2 separate regions of the Homo sapiens genome follow, and region 1 is linked to region 2. The links are contacts of gene promoters, found by promoter capture Hi-C in blood cells and fetal thymus (Javierre and others, 2016). All regions are on one chromosome and are shown on one strand. Each heading gives the region's core, a stretch centred on a gene start or on the middle of the fragment in contact. The rest is flanking DNA. Distances are from core to core; before and after follow the strand shown.

Region 1 (5,135 bases), core at 1,576-4,075, 400 kb after region 2:
CACCATCAATGCCTATACACTCACGCACACACACACACACTGACACACTCACTCTCAGCCTCACACATTCACCCACTAACAAATACACCCACTCTCACGAACTCGCATGTGCACACACACTCACACACACACACAACATCACCTGTTCCCAGGACTTTGGGAAATATAGTACTCTTGTTAAAATCCTGCTCCTGTGAATTGAGGGTCTACCTGGGCCTCAGAAACCTTGCCAACAGAGAAGAGAGCCTCCTGAAGAACTGCAGGGCTCTGCTGAGGGCGCCTTTCACTTGTGCAGCACTGAACTGGTGACTCTCAACAGTTCTTATTTTTAGAAATTGCTGCATTTTGTCTGCTAGAAATCCAGATGACCCCACCAACTGCAATCTCAGTGTGCTTAGAAAGAGGCTTCATAAAAATACTAAGTTAAAGCGGCCCACGGAGTCTTTAGCCACGCAGAACAGACCAAGGAGTAAAAATAAAATGTCTCCACTAAATTTCAGGTAGGGGAAGAACAGAATCTTTAGGGGATCACAAAAATAAAGATTAACTTGCATGGACAGCACCAAGTACACTGGAGAGGATTTAAAGGGAGGCACATTTTGGCTCAATTTGAGGTCACCTTTCCAATGAATGGAGCAGGCCACTTTGCTTGCCACGGAGATCAGATATCCCCCAGTGTCAGGGTGATTACATGGGCCTGTAATCTCTTACATGGGTCCGTAAACTCCTTTAAATCACAAGGGTCACATTAGGAGTTGAGATCCAATGACCTTTGAGGCTACTCTAAGATGCCCCCTTTGGAACTTCCGCTTCCTCATCTGTAAAGTGACCGCCTTACTCTGGGTGACTGCAAGGGGAACTTCAACAGCTATAAATTCTCAAAATCTCTGATTCTGCAGGCAAAGAGCTACAAAAAATAGGGGCGGGGGGGGGGGAGTGACATTTGGAAGGGAGCTGCGAATGTAATTAGTGATGGAAATGTGAATCTCTAGCTGCCTCTGGATGTCTTAGTTAGCAGATTCAAACACGGCCGAATCTTGGCTGAATAATTCCATTCCCTCCAGAGCAAATGGCAACAGTAGGGGTGTTGAAAAATCTGCCTCTGTTGGAGGGAGCAGCAAATGAATTGTTTGGGAGACAAAAGGCCGGGCTATGAATTGTGCTGCCAGCATCTGCTAGTCTTGAAATCTCCTTGGAACTTAGATTCTTTGTTTTTAAGCTGGGATGAAAGTGTCAACCACATAGGCATGCTTTTTTTTCTGAGGATTAACAAGTACAAATGTCCCTAGTCTTCCTGGCTGGGGTGGAGATCATCCAAAGAAATATGTTTTGAATCCAGGCTCCCCCTCTTGCTTGCTTTGTGACTTTGAGAATGTTATTTAACAGTGAGACTCCATCTTCTCCTTTATAAAGTTGGGGGGGATATTGTAGCATCTACTTCGTAGGGCATGCAAGGAATGCTGAGCTGAAGCACACAAAACGTTTTGCACACAGGGTGACTAGTATGGTTTCTACTGATAAGTAGCTTGGTGAGATTCTAAAAAACAGCGTACATCTTACCATATCATAGAAAGTGCACTGTGACCCGCACTGAACCTGGCTTTGTGACCCTTTCTCTCTTATTCAAGCATTCAGAAAGACAGCTTTGCAGCCTCCCACACGTGGGCTCTTAGCTTAGCCTTGGGTGCCAGTAGTTTGAGGTTGCATGAGGGTGGTGGGTGGGCACCCAGGTGAAGGGATGGGAAGGGGCTTGGGCAGAGCCCTCTGCTTGCCACTGATATCAGATGTCCCCCAATGTCAGGGCTATTACTTGGGCCCTCTGGAAACTTTTAAATCACAAGGGTCAAACTAAGCAGCTTTGCCTCCTTCTTCTCTGGCCTGGGGGACTTTGTTGGGGGAGTCAATTATCTGAGATCCTAAGAGGGGGTGGTTTCTCTTAGGCCTCTGGGAATTATGCAGGCAGGGTCTTTGGGGATATTCCGTCCTGCCTCCCCAAATACCCTCCAAGCTTATTTAGGACCAGGTCTATCCCGCATCCTTCTGTGCTCAGGTGGGGAGGGAGGGAAGGCAGCCACAGTGCAATAAATTGGAGATAAAGAACTCCAGACCAATTCTTATTTAGATGAGAGATGCTGTTCTAAAACTGTACGATATCAGTAGTTGGGGGTCTTTATAATATTCACATTCTTCATAAGCTTTTCTGCCAAATGAGTTATTTGGAGGATTAAAGAATTCCCAATGGCCAAAGGGAAGTTATGAAGATGAAAACTTGCATTTTAGATCATGAGAATTTTATTAATATGTTACTATTTTAAGCCACCATACAAATATCCTTTGTATTGATCTCAGTGTGATATACCAACTGAATAAATATGCCAATTTCTGCCAGTGAGCCGCACAGTATTTTTAACCTACTTTAAAATATGTGTTGTTTCCTATGGTTTTTTTAAAGTTTGGAGTTGATGATGAAAGTACTTCAATTTTTAAAGATTCTTCTTTCCAGAGAATATACATGTATATTTTAAACTATTAAATATAAAGCTTAATGGGGTGGGTGATTATTTTTTTAAGTTATAAATTAACAATTTTAAAAGGTGAAATGATTATTTTTGGCTTACGTATGCCATTGTATCAGAGAATACCACCTCAACAAAGGAAATTTGAGTAACATTTATTTGAATATATTCAAATATACATTCTTATGTTCAAATGTAAATGAAATATATTCTTATGTATTTTTTTCCCCTGGTCACTCCCTATTTGTTCTATTTAAGCTGTTTAGTGTATAATGCTGTGTACTTAAACAGGGCCCTGCCAGAAACTTCAGGATCTTCAAAAACTGGGGGAAATCCACAATGTATACATGTATCAAAACATCACATTGTATCCCATATATATGCAATTGTTATTTATCAATTAAAAAGAAAACAAAACCTTTAATAAGTAGTGTTGACCTTGTAGTCTACACTTTGAGAACTGCTAACCTAAGATAACTGAGTACGGTCCTCAGCACGTAGTAGACAATTGGTATGTGTTTAATGGATGAATCAATAAATGAATGATTCAGAAAAAAAAGAAGAGAGAAACAAAACAGAAAGCTGAAGCTTTTCACACATTGGTTAATTGAATCCTGAAGATCACAGTGGTACTATCACAATTTCATAGGTGGGGAAATTAGGATGGGAGAAGACAAATGGCTTGTTCAAGCGCTTTCAGTTGCTTCCAAACAGTTTGTCCTCTAATTCCTCTCTCCCTTTCTTCAAAATGGAAAAACAAAACAAAACAAAACCCGAAAAGATCCCTGAAGTCTCAAAGCCATTGGGATGATATTTAAAGACTGGTCTGAGTTCTTGTTTGGAGAGGCATTGAAGAACCAGAGACAATTATAATTGCTACTGGTGACACACGTTTGCGGAGAGAAATGCAAAGTTGCCATCTTGTAAAATGTAAAATGATACCAGTTATCACCCTTACTTTGTAGAGCGAGAAACCTTAGAAAATTCAGGCCCAGGGCAGGGAATGGGCCTATCTGGAAGTCACTTAAGCACGTCACAGTTTCAGGCCAGTGTTAGGAACAGGCAAAGAATCGCAGAACCCTAGCATTTCAAGAGACCTTGGCCCTCTCTTCTAACTACTGACCTGCAGCAGGAATCCTTGGCGTGGTCCCCTTCAGTGATAAGGAGACACTGTCTCCCAGGACAACCAGCTAGATCCTAATGGCTGTTAGAGAGTCCTTCCTGATTTGAAATGAAACCTGAGGTGGGACTTGGGGCCAGGGGTGGGTGGATGGATGTGGGATCTTGTCTCCCCAATAAACATTGCCGTTAACAGCCCGCACCTTCTTCTCCTGGTGTCCCAGGAGACAGGGAATTACCTGAAGTTGTAGCCTGGGGACACGCTGCTTTTCTCAGAAACGCTGTCGAGCCGGGTGAAGGAGTATTTGGGGATGCACTGGTCCCAGGCCTTGTCCAAGTCGCACACCCAGCCGATCTTAATGCCCAGAACTCCCCCCTGAAGAAACGGGCCGGGTATGAGCTTTCCCCTCGCCCTCTGACTCCCTGCTCTGGGCCAGGGTGGGGGTGGGGTGGAGGTGGTGACAAATGATTTCCTCCCATCCTCCAGGTGGGAGACGGAGGCAGGGAGAACGGAAAGTGACATGTCATATACTGCTCAGTAAAGAAGTGCTGTGGTGGCCGGGTGCGGTGATTCACGCCTGTAATCCCAGCACTTTGGGAGGCCGAGGCGGGCGGATCACGAGGTCAGGAGATCGAGACCATCCTGGCTAACACGGCGAACCCCTGACTCTACTAAAAATACCAAAAATTAGCCGGGCTTGGTCCCAGCTACTCCGGAAGCTGAGGCAGGAGAATGGCGTGAACCTGGGAGGCGGAGGTTGCAGTGAGCCGAAATCGCGCCATGCACTCTAGCCTGGGAGACAGATCGAGACTCTGTCTCAAAAAAAAAAAAAAAAAAAAAGGTTGTGGCTCGGATGCGAACATTGGAGCCTCTGAGTCCTAATTTTGGGATCTTCAGTGCTTTAGCTACAACACAGGAGAAAGTGGCCACAGGTCTACTTTCCCGTCGTTTGGGGCTTATTACAGATCTAAGGCCTTTGCCTGAGGTGAAGTGTGAAGATGGGAGTGGGAAACTGAGGCTTGAGGAAGGTGGACTCGGCGGAGGCGGGGGGCAAGATCGCTCTGCGCGGGGAAAGCAGAAAGGATTCAGGCACAAAGCCAGTGGCGGCCTGGGATGCTTCCACCAGGTGGCGCTGTCTCGCGGCGGCTCCTGGCCAGTGCCGGCCAAAGGGCCCTGAAATCTGGGAAAGGGCTGAAGGTGGGGAGTTTGGGGTCGCGGAAGAATGGCTAGGTCCTCACCGTGCGCGCCAGTTTGGCAAAATCCTGCCCCGCAAACTTGACCACGTCCCCTACCCGCAAGATGGGGCAGAAAGGGTCCTTGTCCGGGTGGAAGCGGCAGGTCTTCATGTCCCTGGCTGTCAGGTTGGGAAGGAGGTTTCCCCTGGGGAGGAGCAGAGAGAGAGGTCAGCCCAGGGTTCATGGGAAGATCGTCTTGTGCAATCTCTCCCCGCCTTCCGGAGCCCAGGCCTAGGGGGGATCTGAGCCCTCAGCCTTCATCTG
Region 2 (5,011 bases), core at 1,704-4,203:
AGAAAGACAGAAGGAAGGAAGGGAGCGAGGGAGGGAGGGAGGGGGAGGGGAGGGGAAGGGAGGGAGGAAAAAGAAAGGAAACAAAGCAAACAAAAGAAAGACAGAAAGAAGGAAGGGAGGAAGGGAGGGAGGGAAGGAGGGAAGGGAAAAGAAAAGAAAGAGAAGAGAACAAGAGAAAGAAAGGAGGAAGGAAACAAGGGAGGGAGGGAGGGAAGGGGAAAAAGAAAGAGAAGAAGAAAAAGAAAATCAGTCCAAGTGCGGTAGCTCACGCCTGTAATGCCAGCACTTTGGGAGGCCAGGGTGGGTGGATCACCTGAGGTCAGGAGTTCGAGACCAGCCTGGCCAACATGGTGTAACCCTGGCTCTACTAAAAATACAAAACTTAGCTGGGCATGGTGGCATATGCCTGTAATCCCAGCTACTCAGGAGGCTGAGGCAGGAGAATTGCTTGAACCCTGAGGTGGAGGTTGCAGTGAGCCAAGATCACGCCTTGCACTCCAGCGTGGACAAGAAGAGCGGAACTCTGTTTCCAAAAAATAAATAAATAAATAAATAAAAGAAAAACAATTAAATCAGCCAGGCATGGTGGCACTTGCCTATAGCCCCAGCTACTCGGGAGGCTGAGGTGGAAGGATTGCTGGAGCTCCAGAGGTCGAGGCTGCAGTGAGCCGGGATCGCGTCACATCCTGGGCAACATTAATTACCTTTTTTTTTTTTTTCTGAGACTGAGTCTTGCTCTGTCACCCAGGCTGGAGTGCAGTGGCGTCATCTCGGCTCAGTGAAACCTCTGCCTCCCGGGTTCAAACGATTCTCCTGCCTCAGCCTCCCGAGTTGCTGGGATTACAGCACGCGCCACCAGGCCCGGCTAATTTTTTGTATTTTTGTAGAGACGGGGTTTCACCATGTTGGCCAGGCTGGTCTCTAACTCCTGACCTCGTGATCCGCCCCCCTCAGCCTCCCAAAGTCCTGGGATTACAAGCGTGAACCACCGCGCCAGGCCTAATTAACATTTTTTTAAAAAATCATCTCTGTAACGATAATGGAGACCGTTCGCGGGGGCGGGGGGGGGGATTTTCTGCAAAACCCCTGGGTCATTAGTTCTCCAAGATTTGGGGTTGGAGTGGAATCAGTGAAGAAACTGAATTCAGAAACTGCCCAAGGACCTTATTCCATAACATCTCTGGTCTTAGGAGATTTCTAAATTAGCCATATGGGGGACCCGGTGTTACCAGAGCCATCCAGAGACTTCCATCACGAAACATGGAGCGCTCCAGGCAGAGCCAAGGGCATCTACTGCCTCTTCAAAGGGAAGACGGACATGACCCTTAACCGCCTTGGCGCCTGCTCTACTACAGCATCCCTACCCTCTTTTTCGGTGTGTTTTCATCAAGTGCTGAGGCAGACGACGGCTTTCACAAGAATTCCTCCCTGACGGGCCCATCCCCCTGCCTCTTGCAGCCCAGCCATCTTCCCTCAGCCCTCAAGTCCCTCGAGACTTAGCCTCCCGCCCAAAGCGCTCCTCCTGTTCTGATTGGTTCTCCCGGGAGCCTTCGGCCAATGGGGATGACGTATGCCGGACGACGTAGGCCCGAGGACTCGGGAGGAGGAGGGGCGTAGGGCTCTGCGACGCGCAGCGCGCTAGGACGGTGGCACGAGGTGTGTGGCGCTGGCCGCGTGGCCTTACAACCCTCGCTATCACTACCACCCAGTGCATGTGGGTGCTGAAGCCCGCAGGGATACAAGGGCGCCAGGGGCTGCCTGCAAAGTCTATGCTGGCGGAGGTGGCCGTGACGGGAAGTCCTGACTTTGGGCCTCCCGGATCCCCACGGTCCATTCCCAGAAACCCTCGCGCCTAGGAGTCTTTCTTCAAAGGAGTTGGGCCAGGGCGCCCAAGCGTGCGGGCCACCCCGCTTTGCAGGGCTCTCCCTGAAGCCCTGCTTTCTCCGCCAACACCGATTCCCTTGCTTCTGGATGGGGAGGTGAAGCACTCAGCCGTTGGCCCACCTGCGCATCTTTGCTCAGCCTCCTGACTCAACGCTGAACATTGAGAGGAAGCAAGGCAGGCTGGACAGAGGACAAGCACAGAGAAGGCAACAGGAGCAAAGTCTACCGAAAAGCTATTTCAAGTTGGGTCTGGAGGCAAGGCCAGGCGATCGTGGATTGAGAAGCTTCCCCAGGGCCCTTGCAACAGCTGCCATCCTCCATCCACATCTCTCTCACTGGGATGGGAATTTTTTTTTTTTTTTTGAGACGGAGTCTCGCTCTGTCGCCCAGGCTGGAGTGCAGTGGCTCTATCTACAACCTCTGCCTCCCAGGTTCAAGCGATTCTCCCACCTCAGCCTCCTGAGTAGCTGAGATTACAGGCGCCTGCCACCATGCCCGGCTAATTTTCGTATTTTTGTAGAGACGGGGAGTCACCATGTTGGCCAGGCTGGTCTCAAACTCCTAACCTCAGGTGATCCACCCGCCTCGGCCTCCCAAAGTGCTGGGATTACAGGCGTGAGCCACCCCGCCCAGCCAAGCCCGCCTTCTCTTAATTTACCTTTTCATTCTTCTTTCCTGATAGTTTTGACGTGAACTGTTCGGACCCTCAGTGCTACCTGATAGAAAACTGCATTCCAGGAAAGGAACACAGCTGTGCAGTGAGTGGGGGGGTTTCGGAGCTAAAAAGCTGGACATAAGCCTGAAGTCAGAATACTCAGTTTGTTTTGGGAGGGGTAAAATGCTTTACTATCCTTGCTGCATTGTTAGCCTGGTAATTAACTATACAAACGTAAAGGCCAAATTCTTTGCCTACTACCAGGGTCAGTCAGGCTCGCTTTGGTCAAGTACACCCAGCCAAGGGTGGCAACGTCCTTGGTTCTGTGAGAGACCTTCCCGCAGAGTCAGAGGCTTCTCTTCTTTATTGTGCACCCTCTGCTGGTTAGTGTGATACAGTGAGCTCAGAGAAAAGGCGCATACGACTTACTAGAGATAATTTTATACCCAGTAATGTTTCCTTAAAAGTGTTAACTTGAAGATTATACCTGTGGAGCTGGGATGTGGTGCTCAGGAAGAATATAAGTAGTCAGCATTGTAGCAGTTGAGTCTCAGTGGTAATGGAAATGAGGAAGGTTGAAGGATAATAATAGTTACCATTTGGGGCTTGGTAGTTATTTTGTGCCAGGCACTCACTGTGCTAAGCAACTTTACCTTCACTGACTCATTTAATCTTTAAAACAACCCTACAAGGTAAGTACTATTATTCTATTTCATGGATAGGAAAGTGAGACTCAGAGAAGTTAGGTCACCTGTGTGAGATTATACAGCCAGGCTAATAAATAGAGCCAAGACCCAAACCTAGGCTTATCTCTGAGCTCCCACATGTAACCACTATGATAATTTTCTTTCTTGAGATATCCTTGGCACAATTTCTGGGCTGATGTTTCCTCAACTCATACTATTATCTCTCACTTTCAAAATTCCCCTGCCATTTCAAAGACAAAAAACAAATTAGATGTAACCATGCCTCTGAAATGTATTATCTCACCTACAGGAGTCTGATCTGTGAAAACCTAGAAGGTTTGTTAAGACTCTTGCCAACATGTGCTCTCCTGCCAGTCCCAAAATCCTATACAGGAACCCCCGGTTCCTCAGGTTAGCTTTTCTGCAGCTTCATCACCAGCAGCAGAGTGATGTGTTCTGTGATGTCCTTCTGCAGGCAGAAGGTAAGAGAGTGGTCGGAATTCAACTGAAAACTCACCATAGAATAAGATAAAATGAGTTCAGAGCCAGAGGGTAAAGGACAAAATCAGCAAAATATTACTGCCTATGACCACTGTAAACTATTTGGTAAAGGGCTGTTTGTTTCTAGGACAATTACTACTGTTTTCAAGAGTGAAATTGTGACTTTGCTTCTTTCTCTTAAATAATGAATCTAATTGTAAAGTTTTATAAGCAGATACATTCTATATAACATGGATAATATTCCAATGGGATGGTTGTGAAGATTAAGAGTTAATGTGGGTAAGCACTTAGAATAGTGCTTTTAATATACTAACCACAATATGTGTTAGATGATACTATTATGTTTTCTTTTTGAGAGTCTCACTCTCTTGCCCAGGCAGGAGTGTGGTGGCACAATCACAGCTACCTGCAACCTCCACCTCCTGGGTTCAAGTGATTCTCATGCCTTAGCTTTCTCAAGTAGCTGAGATTACAGGCATGCGCCACTACGCCCAGCTAACTTTTGTATTTTTAGTAGAGATGAGGTTTTGCCATGATGGCCAGGCTGGTCTCAAACTCCTGGCCTCAAGTGATCCACCCGCCTGGGCTTGCCAAAGTGCTGGGATTATAGGCGTGAGCCACCACGTCCGACCCTTTTCCCATTTTCTTTTTTGTTGTTGTTTTGTTTTTGAGACAGAGTCTCTCTCTGTCTCCCAGGCTGGAGTGCAATGGCACGGTCTCAGCTCACTGCAACCTCCACCTCCCGCGTTCAAGCGATTCTGCCGCCTCAGCCTCCCGAGTAGCTGGGACTACAGGTGCGTGCCACCACACCCGGAAAATTTTTTGTATTTTTAGTAGAGATGGGGTTTCACTATGTTGGCCAGACTGGTCTCGAACTCCTGACCTCATGATTCACCTGCCTCAGCCTCCCAAAGTGCTGGGATTACAGGCGTGAGCCACGTTGCCCGGCCTGCTTAATTTATTTAATCTTCAAATTGATGACTTTTGTTGTTTGTTGCTAGAACTAAAAATGTATAGGTTATTTCCACCCCTTCACTTCACACTGGAAATGTTAATTCAGCATAAAGTAGACCCTGATATATAATGTACAAGGCCCAAGATTAGGAGTCAGAGTTACTAAGTAGATCCTGATATATAAAGGCCCAAGAAATGGGCAGGTAACTTCATCTCTCTGGGGCTCAATGTCTTCATTTATAAAAAATAATTATGATAACCAATATTGTATACCACTCTACAGTTTGTGGATTACATACAGTATAGTGTCTCATTTGATTTTTTTTTTTTT

What was found. Contacts are between HindIII fragments. The CHiCAGO score rates a contact against its expected background, and 5 or more counts as called.
Region 1: a fragment that was not itself captured here is called in contact with the fragment with the promoter of BTBD18 in region 2 in 3 of 17 cell types (M0 macrophages, erythroblasts and M1 macrophages); the score reaches 6.1 in M0 macrophages.

What each region holds. Positions count from the first base shown.
Region 1 is chr11:57,349,638-57,354,772 of GRCh38, reverse strand. It overlaps P2RX3 (purinergic receptor P2X 3), which reads right to left. Exons shown (of 12, transcript NM_002559.5): 7 at 4,875-5,016; 8 at 3,875-4,011. Among named protein-coding and RNA genes, the nearest start is that of P2RX3, 14 kb to the right of the region's middle. RefSeq lists an enhancer at 4,445-4,944. The HindIII fragment of the contact is 563 bases long and covers 2,544-3,106 here.
Region 2 is chr11:57,749,761-57,754,771 of GRCh38, reverse strand. BTBD18 (BTB domain containing 18) reads left to right here and starts at 2,953. Exons shown (of 3, transcript NM_001145101.3): 1 at 2,953-3,231; 2 at 3,536-3,707. The coding sequence starts at 3,584. All of the region lies in intron 2 of TMX2-CTNND1 (TMX2-CTNND1 readthrough (NMD candidate)), which reads right to left. The HindIII fragment of the contact is 11,151 bases long and covers 2,171-5,011 here.